Linked DNA regions of Homo sapiens: region 1 is linked to region 2. Evidence: promoter capture Hi-C in human tissues and cell types (Jung and others, 2019). All regions are on one chromosome and are shown on one strand. The core of a region is centred on a gene start or on the middle of the fragment in contact, and the rest is flanking DNA. Distances in the headings are between cores, read along the strand shown. Region 1 overlaps GPR157 (G protein-coupled receptor 157). Region 2 holds the start of CA6 (carbonic anhydrase 6).

Region 1 (5,192 bases), core at 1,891-4,390, 150 kb after region 2:
TCCAAAAAACCCTTAAATATCCTTAGTCTGTCAGAGAGAAGGGCTCTCTGACCTAACTCAGCCGGAAGCCCCTCTCAGGTTTGTTTTCTCTAAAATAAACCTGTCCTTAACTGTCAAGCCACATTTTGTGTTTCTTTCTTGTTTCTTTAAGTCTTACAGTGCTGAGTCCTCCTCTGGGTGGGGCCACAGGATGGGTTGAGTCATGAGTCCAGGTAGAGTTAGCCATCATCAGAAATACAAGTCTGAGACATCTCAAAAAGCAAATCTTAGGTTCTACAATAGTGATGTTACTTACGGGAGTAATTGGGGAGGTTATAAGTCTTGTGACCTCTGGAACAATGGCTGGTAGTCATTTACCTATGCCTACATCTTAGCAGAATTCAGGCCCCTCTCATAATCCTAACCTTGTGGACTTTCATTAGTTTTACAAAGGTGGTTTAGTTTTGAGAAGGGCTATTATCATCCTTGCTTTAAGGTTAAACTCTAAACTAAATTTCTCCCAAAGTTAGCTTGGCCCATACTCAGGAATGACCAAGGACAGCCTGGAGCTTAGAAGCAAGACAGAATCAACAATGTTGGATTTCTCTCACTGTCATAATTTTTGCAAAGGCAGCTTTAGAAGCATTAGATTTCATTTAAGCCTCAATATCACCCCATTTTAGATGAACCTGTGGCTGAGTGAGGTCAACATTTTCTCAGAGTAATACAAGGATAAATAATGGGCCAGGTACAGCAGCTCATGCCTGTAATCCTAGCACTTTGGGAGGCTGAGGCAGGTGGATCACCTGAGGTCAGGAGTTCAAGACCAGCCTGGCCAACATGGCAAAACCCCATCTCTACTAAAAATACAAAAATTAGCTGGGCATGGTAGCATGTGCCTGTAGTCTCAGTTACATGGAAGGCTGGGGCAGGAGAATCGCTTGAACCCAGAAGGTGAAGGTTGCAGTAGGCCAAGATCACACCATTGCACTCCATCCTGGGCAACAGAGCAAGACTCCGTCTCCAAAAAAAATAATAATAATAAATAAATAAAAGATGGAGTCCACTTCTCGGCCTTGTGGCCAAGATCAAGTATAATAAACAATGGAGCCATAGTTGGAACTCAGTCTCTCTCTTTCCAGAGCCTCGTCGTTCACAAACCTGGTCGTCGGGACCCACCTGCTTCTCGTTTCCTTGGAGAATCAAAGCCATCCCCTCAGCTTGTCTACTGTAAGATGACTTGATAAACACACGGCTGCCTTCATCAATATCACTTCACTATGCCCAGGAGATTCTTGTCCTGCAAGACAACTGCTGCAAATAACTTTATGGTTCACTCCAGGAACTTCCTGGAAAGATTCATCAGCTCTTCAATAGAAAGCATCCAATGATAGCTTAGACTCAAAACTCATTCAACTAGCCACCAGCAAATCCTCATCATGCTGTGCTCACATGTGTGAAAGGATTACATCACGACTTGCTAATCCCAAGAAGGCTGAAAGACTCATCTGAAACTATATGTTTTGATCTTCAAAAATATGGACTAGGCGTGGTGGTTCACGCCTGTAATCCCAGCATTTTGGGAGGCAGAGGCAGGTGGATCACAAGGTCAGGAGTTCAAGACCAGCCTGGCCAACATGGCTAAACCCTGTCTCTACTAAAAATACAAAAATTAAATTAGCCAGGTGTGGTGGCGCATGCCTGTACTCCCAGCTGCTAGGGAGGCTGAGGCAGGAGAATTGCTTGAACCTGGGAGTTGGAGATCGCGATGAGCCGAGATCGTGCCACTGTACTCCAGCCTGGGTGACAGAGCAAGACTCCGTCTCAAAAAAAAAAAAAAAAAAAAAGAATAAATACCCCAATGTTGTTCTCTCCTACTCTGAGACCCTGCTAGTGAAACTGCCACTGCAAAATTATGACTGAGACGGTGAAAGAGATCTGACCTAACCAACTCCATCTTCCTTCTGACCTCCAAGCTGTTCTTGTTCATTCCTGGGCATGGGCTGAACTAATCTGGGGAGGAACTTAGTTTATAGTTTAGAAAAAAGAAGATAGCAGCCCTTTTCTCAAGGTAGATCCCCTTCTTGTTAGCCAAAAGATTAGAAAGTATGGTTTAGCAGTCATGCAGCTGAGGATTCAAGATTCTGACCCTCCCCAAATTGCTCCTAGGCATAACATCACTATTGTAAAACCTAAGGTCAGTGCCTGAGATATTTTGCAGGCCCTGCACTTGATGGATCAGCTGGCACCAAATCGATAAACTGGCCCATCTCATCTTGTGGCCCTCACCCAGGAACTGACTCAGCACAAGAGGACAGCTTCAACTCCCTATGATTTAATCTCTGACCCAGCCAATCAGCACTCCCGACTCACTGGCCCCTCCCCACCCACCAAATTATCTTTAAAAACTCGATCCCCAAATGCTCTGGGAGACCGATTGGAATAATAATAAAACTCTGGTCTCCCACACAGCTGGCTCTGTGTGAATCGCTCTTTCTCTGTTGCAATTCCCCTGTCTTGATAAATCGGCTCTGTCTAGGCAGCGGGCAAGGTGAACCCACTGGGCGGTTACACTAGGGCCCTGCAATAGGAGTGCCTTTCACTTCCCTGGTAAGCACCAGCTTTGTCCTGTGTACAGGCAGTGCCAACTCCATGGGCCTGTGACCCGTGCAGTTTCCAGGATCCTGCCCGCAGAAGGGCAACTTCATATCTGGCCTGGCACAGGGTAAGCACTCAGGAAACGCCAGCTATTAGCTAGTGACAACGTCCTGACCCCACCACATCTGGCAAATCCTTTTCCTCGTGGAGCCTGGATTCTGGACTCTCCTCCCACAGGTGAGTAATTGTTACTAGACACGCATGCTTCATTCAGAAAGTGGTCCACCTTGCCCCCAAAGCTTCCCCTGCTGGAGCTTTTCCTATGTGCAAGGCCTAAGCCTCAGCTGCATGCTGGGCTGACCCTTGGATACAGCCTGACTCTGTGCCAGGAGCCTGGCAGGCTCTGGGGAAAATGCCTGGTAGAGTGGTCCCTGGAACGTATGGTTTCTGCAGAGACTGTGGCATCCCAAAGACCCGCTTAGAAGTCTATGGGAGCAGAAGGAGGTGACCCTGTGGGGTGTGAGCTGCATATAGGCAGAAGCAGGAGGTCAGGCAAGAGGGAACGGTGTGGAGTGGTGTGGAGCAGTGTGGAACACGGAGCCTGGATTCTGAATGCATGCTGCATTTGCTGGGGTGAGGAAGGCGAAGAGAACTCCGGAGAAGAGGTCAGGGAAGAGGTGAAAAAAGGTCACTGAGGGGAGACAGATGGAAAGGGAAAGGCGCATGGCAGTTGATGAGTGGAGGGTCACAGGAGAGGGCCTCAAGGGGATGCTTCCATTTTCTCCCAGGTAAGCACATAGCATCAAGTTTAGAGATGCAAAGACAAAGGCAGGAGAGAATAGTTAACAAACCTCAGGGTGGTCGCGTCGAAGTAGCAGGACCAGGCCTGCTATTTTAATATTACTTAAGTTTGTGTATGTTGTACCTTAATAACCAAATTCAAGATGCCACTTCTAGGGGCTATTCAATGCAGTTTGTGTTGTTGTTTTGTTTGTTTTTTGAGACTTGCTCTGTCACCCAGGCTGGAGTGCAGTGACGTGATCTCGGCTCACTTCGATCTCTGCCTCCCGGGTTCAAGCCATTCTCCTCAATGCAGTTTTAACTGCACAAAATCCAGACAGTGGAAGAAAGTTTAGGAGCTTTTGGCAGCAAAATTCCCAAGGCGGAGCAGTTTCAAGAAAACTATGACCGGAGGTGGGGCTGCATGGCCAGTGCAGATCTGCAAGTCACGCAGCAAGGCAGCCAGCTCCAGTAGATGCGTTTGGAAGGCTGCTCCCTTCCAAGAAGAGACCCTGTGTCCCAGCAGTCCCTGACCACCAGGAGGCCTGCAGATGCAGCTGCGGCGGGTCACCCTGTGTGTGATACAACCATGCATGAAGGGTGAAGGGGTCAGCAGCTCAGCCCTGGAGCATCTCTCTTAATCAAGTTCAGCCCCAAGTCATGGGTGCTTGGAACTTGGACCTGTTGACCCTCATCGGCTCTATCTAGGCAGCAGGCAAGGTGAACCCACTGGGCGGTTACACTAGGGTCCTGCTATAGGAGTGCCTTTCATTCCCCTGGTAAGCACCAACTTTGTGGACAAAGCCCAGGAATCTGTATTCTAAAACCCTCTCCCTATCTCTCCACCCCCATGATCTTTATTAGGTCAACTCAGGGGAAGCTGGCTATGCCAACAGGGCGGCTGCCTCTTTAGCTAATTTGCCAAGAGAGAAGGGCAGAGCTGTCTTCTCCAGGTCTCAGCCTCATGGTAGGCTCTGGAACCACAGCAACACAGGCCAATGCGAGCCACCTGTCCTGCAACCGCCCCCTCCCCACCCTGCACAACACATCAGGAGGCAATCACTTTACCAAACACATAGGAGAAAAATAATTTATTTATTTAATTTAAAACAGCAAGACTTCAGCTTCCACCCAGTCAGGGCTTGCATTACAATTTTGCAGGTGCAAAAACTCACACTTTTGATGCCACAACTAGAAGTTTGTAAAAACTATTTTTCTTGTCGTGGACACGTGAAGAGTTCTGTTTGCACCCTCAGCCTGGGCCAAATAATCATCTTTATTTAAAAACAAAACAGAACAAACAAACCAAAAAACCCTCAAAAGCACAAAGAGGCAGAAAGCGGCTGGTAAACCTGGTTAAAAGACCAAAGTTCAGAAAGTGCATGGGAGAGGGACGCTGAGCTGCGGACACCGTTCCGGCTGCAGTACGTGTTATGGCTGAGGTTACACTTGGGTGACTCAGGGATGCAGGCAGATGAACATTAACCACACTAACAGAGGAGAAAGAAGCCCACTGGGGCTGTGCAAAGTGTCCAAGGAGCACAGCCCCTTTTGCCCTGATCAGATGTAACAGCCCCTCGCTTGAGATCTGACTGGGCAACATGGCAAAACCTTGTCTCTACAAAAAGTCAAAATTTAGCCAGGCCTGTGGTCCCAGCTTCTCAGGGAGCTGAGGTGGGAGGATCGCTTGAGCCTGGGAGGTGGAGGCTGCAGTGAGCCATGATTGCATCACTGCACTCCAGACTGGGTATGATGCTCCAGACAGCAAAACCCTGCCTCACAAAAATAAATAAACTAAAAAGAAGTAACAGCCCCTCCTGGACTTGTTTTATTTT
Region 2 (4,636 bases), core at 281-2,780:
AGGCGGGAGAATCGCTTGAGTCCAGGAGTTTGAGGCCAGCCTAAGCAACATGGTGAAAACCTGTATCTACAAAAAGTACAAAAATTAGCAGGGCGTAGTGGCATGCGACTGTGGTCCCAGCTACTTGGGAAGCTGAGGCAGGAGGATTGCTTGAGTCCAAGAGAAGTGAGCTGAAATCGTATCATTGCACTCCAGCCTGGTGACAGAGAGAGACCCTGTCTCAAAAAAGAAAGAAAGAGAGAAAGAGAGAAAGAAAAGAAAGAGAGAAAGGAAGAAAGAAAGAGAAAAAAGAAAAGGAAGGAAAGCTGAGGCACAGAGCGCTGAGTTGCCCATGGTCACACAGTTAGCAGGTGGCACAGATCCTGTCTAGTTTCAGAATCCTTGTCCTTGAACATGCTTTGCTCTCTCTCTGAGATTCTTTCAGCTCTTGAGCTTTAGAAATGGAAGTTTCCAGCAAGTTCTTTGCAGCAGCTGATGTTCCCTATTAAATGACAGTGGGGAGTCTTAGAAGTATTCGGGAGGCCTACGTTCACCGCTAACATCCTTGTTGTGAAGGCCTGCTGACGTTTGCCATTCCAGGACCAAGTGGACAATGAGTTAAGCTAGGCCAGGAGGGGGTTCAGCTCCCCATAACAAGGCAGGGGTGGCCCTTTGTGTCCGGCAGCATGGTAGCCCCCCCGCAGGAGCTCCGGCTACCCTTTGTGTTTGACCTTGTGGAAGGGCATGGGAAATGCTGGCCTGTCAGCAGGCATAAACTCAAAAGTTTCTCCTTCAGCTAATTTCAGGGACTGTCTAGCCAAGTGAATACACAGGATTAGGTAATCCATGGATCCTGCGAGGGCAATTGGCTGATTGGCTTAGGTGTGCCCAAGAGCCCTGCAGGTGTCAGAACAAATCCATGTAGAAATGCAGACGCCCACACCAGCTTGAATGGCATAAAGGCACACATTGGAATGTGGCTCATGAGCTGGGACCCAGGATCAACCACTGGTTTAAGGAGAGGACCGTGAAATGTCCAAACATGGAGGCCAGGCCACCTCCCTGGATGCCTGGCTGAGGGCAGCCACATGTCTGCAGCGGTGGCTTGTGTCCATGACTGAGATGGGCAGGGTTTGCAGGCAGTGGTGATCCCATCAGCAGTCCCCAGATCTCTAATGTCAGGAGAAAGAGCATGGGAAGTCCGACGTCCAGGAAAGTCTTTCATCCTGCTTCTCCCTGCCTTGGGCCTTTTCCCATTTCCGCGGTCACCTGTCCACAATGGCTGCACTGTGTGGCTCTTCAGGTGTTCCTAAGACACTGAACAACCAAACCCATGGACTGACCGGATATGAAATTGACGTGGGAGGAGATCAGGCAGGTGCTGGGGCTGCCTGGCGCAATGCACGGAGCCAGAAGTGCTGTTATGGGGAGGGTGTTATTGTTTTAGTGGGTGCAGCAAAGGGTGGTTTAGCCAGCTGGGCAGATCAATTGTAAATTGTTATTTACAGTTTCTGAGCCTTTAAAAGAAGAGCTTCGCCGGAATCAGTCTTCATTACAGATGTGCAGCACCATGAGGGCCCTGGTGCTTCTGCTGTCCCTGTTCCTGCTGGGTGGCCAGGCCCAGCATGTGTCTGACTGGACCTACTCAGGTGAGCCCCTAGCTTCTGCATGCTCCCCCAGTTACCCTCACACCCTTACAACAGGACAAGTGCCCTTCTTCTTCTTCTTTTTTTTTTTTTTAGACAAAGTCTTGCTCTGTTGCCCAGGCTTGAGTACAGTAGTGTGATGTTGGCTCACTGCAACCTCCGCCTCCCGGGTTCAAGTGATTCTGCTGCCTTAGCCTCCCGAGTACCTGGGATTACAGGTGCCTGCCACCATGCCTGGCTAATTTTTGTATTTTTAGTAGAGACAGGGTTTCACCATGTTGTCCAGGCTGGTCTCGAACTCCTGACCTTAGGTGATCTGCCCATCTCCCAAAGTGCTGGGATTACAGGCATGAGCCATTGCGCCCGGCCAAGAGTCCTCCTTTAGGGCATTTCACAGGATGGCCAGGCAGCCCACTTGCCATATGTTGGGGGTCTGCTCATTGTGGCTTCAGATGTTACCTTTTCAGTGTCTCAGAAGGTATGGAGAATAAGCTGAACTTAAACTTCAAATAAGGAAAAGAAGGAAATAGCTTTCCCCTTCACAAACTCCTGATTTACTTACAGGCTTTTTGCTTTAAATTTTTTTCCATCCACAGTGTTGGCTGGTTCAAAAGCACACTCACTGCTTCTATTTGTAAAACCATTTGCTTTGTTGGTCCGTGTAAGTGGAAAACAAAGTTCTTAGAAAAGACTCTCGGTAACCTCACGGAAGGTGCTGTGGGGTTTGCGAGACCTTCTTTCTTGGAAATTTCATGGTAGGCAGTTTACCCAGAACATCTTGACATAAGGACCCAGTTCCCTTTGATCTGTGGGCTGCCAAAATGAGAGGTGTTTTTTTTTTTGTTTTTTTTTTTTTTTTGAGACAGAGTCTTGCTCTGTTGCCCAGGCTGGAGTTCAGTGGTGCCATCTCGGCTTACTGCAACCTCTGCCTCCTGGTTTCAAGCGATTCTCATGTCTTAGCCTCCCAAGTAGCTGGGATTACAGGCACTCATCACCATGCCTGGCTAACTTTTGTATTTTTAGTGGAGATGGGGTTTTACCACGTTGGCCAGGCTGTTCTCAAACTTCTGACCTCAAGTGATCCGCCCACCTTAGCCTCCCAAAGTGCTGGGATTACAGGCGTGAGCCACCGCGCCAGGCCCCAAACCAGACTTTTAAAATGTGAAATGTAAAATCCTGGCATTCAACATGGGTTCTGGTCCACATGTGAGCCAAAGCTAGAAGGCCGTGTCTGTGGACTTTGTGGACACTAAACAGCCCTTTCCAGGGGCAGTGAGGAGAGCTTCTTCCCGCATCCCCCTTCTTTCCATACGGGACCATGGATTGGGGCCCATGAGGAGGCTGGTGGCCGCTGGCTGATGCAGGAAGTGAGACAAACATCTGCTTCCTGCAGAGTCTGCCCCAGTTCAGCTGCTCCGGAAGCATTCCTTCAGGGTGAACGGGATGATCTGTTAAGTCAAGGGCAACGGAATTAGGGACATCCTGGGAGGTTCAGAAAGTCCAGCCAGCTCTGAACAACCGCTCTGTTCCTGAGGACAGTGATCTTACACATGGCAGTGCCTCGGAAGCCTGGGGCATTCTGCTTCACTTGGCCAAGCAGTGCAGGCAGGTGGTTCAGAGGTGAAGGAAGAGAGAATTCAGACAATGAAGTCCTTGTCCTTCCCAGGCTCTGCCCAGCCTCTGAGACAGTGGGCTTCCTGGGAAACTACTAGGGGCTCCAGGAGAACTTGAGAGTAGCTTTTGTAAATGCCTTCCAGGGAAACCTGAGAGATGTTCCAGTATTGACAGTGCCCTGGGCCAAAGCATCTTGCTCTGAGAAGGCGTTGTGCTCCAGGCCAATTGCCTTGATTACAAACCAAAAAGCGGTGAGGGCCCTAGTACAGACACCTTTTTTTTTTTTTTTGAGAGTTTCACTCTCGTTGCCCAGGCTGGAGTGCAGTGGCGCGATCTCGGCTCACCGCAACCTCTGCCTCCTGGGTTCAAGTGATTCTCCTGCCTTAGCCTCTCAAGTAGCTGGGATTAACGGCATGTGCCACCATGCCCGGCTGATTGTTTTTTATTTTTAGTAGAGATGGAGTTTCTCCAGGTTTGTCAGGGTGGGTCTCGAGCTCCCAACCTTAGGTGATCCACCCGCCTCGGCCTCCCAAAGTGTTGGGATTACAGGCATGAGCCACCGTGCCCAGCCACAAACACCTGTCTTAAAACAAGCTGTGTACTCACCACACAGCTACCCCCGAACAGGGAACAGAGGTGGGATTCTCCATGTCACATGGCTGACTCCAAGCTCCACAGCTGTATGGGAGCCAAGTCACCATGATAATCACTCACCTATGTTACTCTGTCCCCTACGATTATCAACCCTCTCTGAAAAGATAAACTTTCTCCTTATGAATTTTAAAAAAGTACTCATTCTAGGTTGTCCTGGAACCTGATGCTTCCTTAGTTTCCCTGAATCCATAAGTGTAGACACCTAGATGGTCTTTACCATACGGGAATCCATAAAAGGGGCTGGAGCAAGAAAATAGTGGTGGGGGGTTCCTGCAGCATGGGGAGGTGGGGGCTGTGTTCCTGTTGGGGGCATGGAAGGACAACTGGGCCCTTGGGAGGAAATGAGGAAGAGGCCCCAGGAGCAGCACAGGAAGAGCAAAGCCAAGGATCCCTCCATGCATTCACCAGCTGGAAATAAGTCAAACGAGAGCAAAAATTTACGTATAAAACACTCTCAGGCCGGGCACGGTGGCTCACGCCTGTAATCCCAGCACTTTGGGAGGCCAAGGTGGGTGGATCACCTGAGGTCAGGAGTTAGAGATCAGCCTGGCCAACATGGTGAAACCCCGTCTCTACTAAAAATACAAAAATTAGCCAGGCGTGGTGGTGCATGCCTGTAATCCCAGCTACTCCGGAGGCTGATGCCGGATAATCTCTTGAATCTGGGAGGCAGAGGTTGCAGTGAGCCAAGATTGCACCACTGCACTCCAACCTGGGTGACACAGCGAGACCCTGTCTCAAAA

Evidence for each region. Contacts are between HindIII fragments. The study calls those that stand out against the background at their distance.
Region 1: a fragment that was not itself captured here is called in contact with the fragment with the promoter of CA6 in region 2 in 3 of the 25 tissues and cell types used here (bladder, lymphoblastoid cells and spleen).

The regions. Positions count from the first base shown.
Region 1 is chr1:9,095,872-9,101,063 of GRCh38, forward strand. It overlaps GPR157 (G protein-coupled receptor 157), which reads right to left. Exons shown (of 4, transcript NM_024980.5): 4 at 4,434-5,192. Among named protein-coding and RNA genes, the nearest start is that of SLC2A5, 29 kb to the left of the region's middle. The HindIII fragment of the contact is 3,861 bases long and covers 1,211-5,071 here.
Region 2 is chr1:8,944,338-8,948,973 of GRCh38, forward strand. It overlaps CA6 (carbonic anhydrase 6), which reads left to right and starts at 1,531. Exons shown (of 8, transcript NM_001215.4): 1 at 1,531-1,628. The coding sequence starts at 1,550. The HindIII fragment of the contact is 10,958 bases long and covers 1-4,636 here.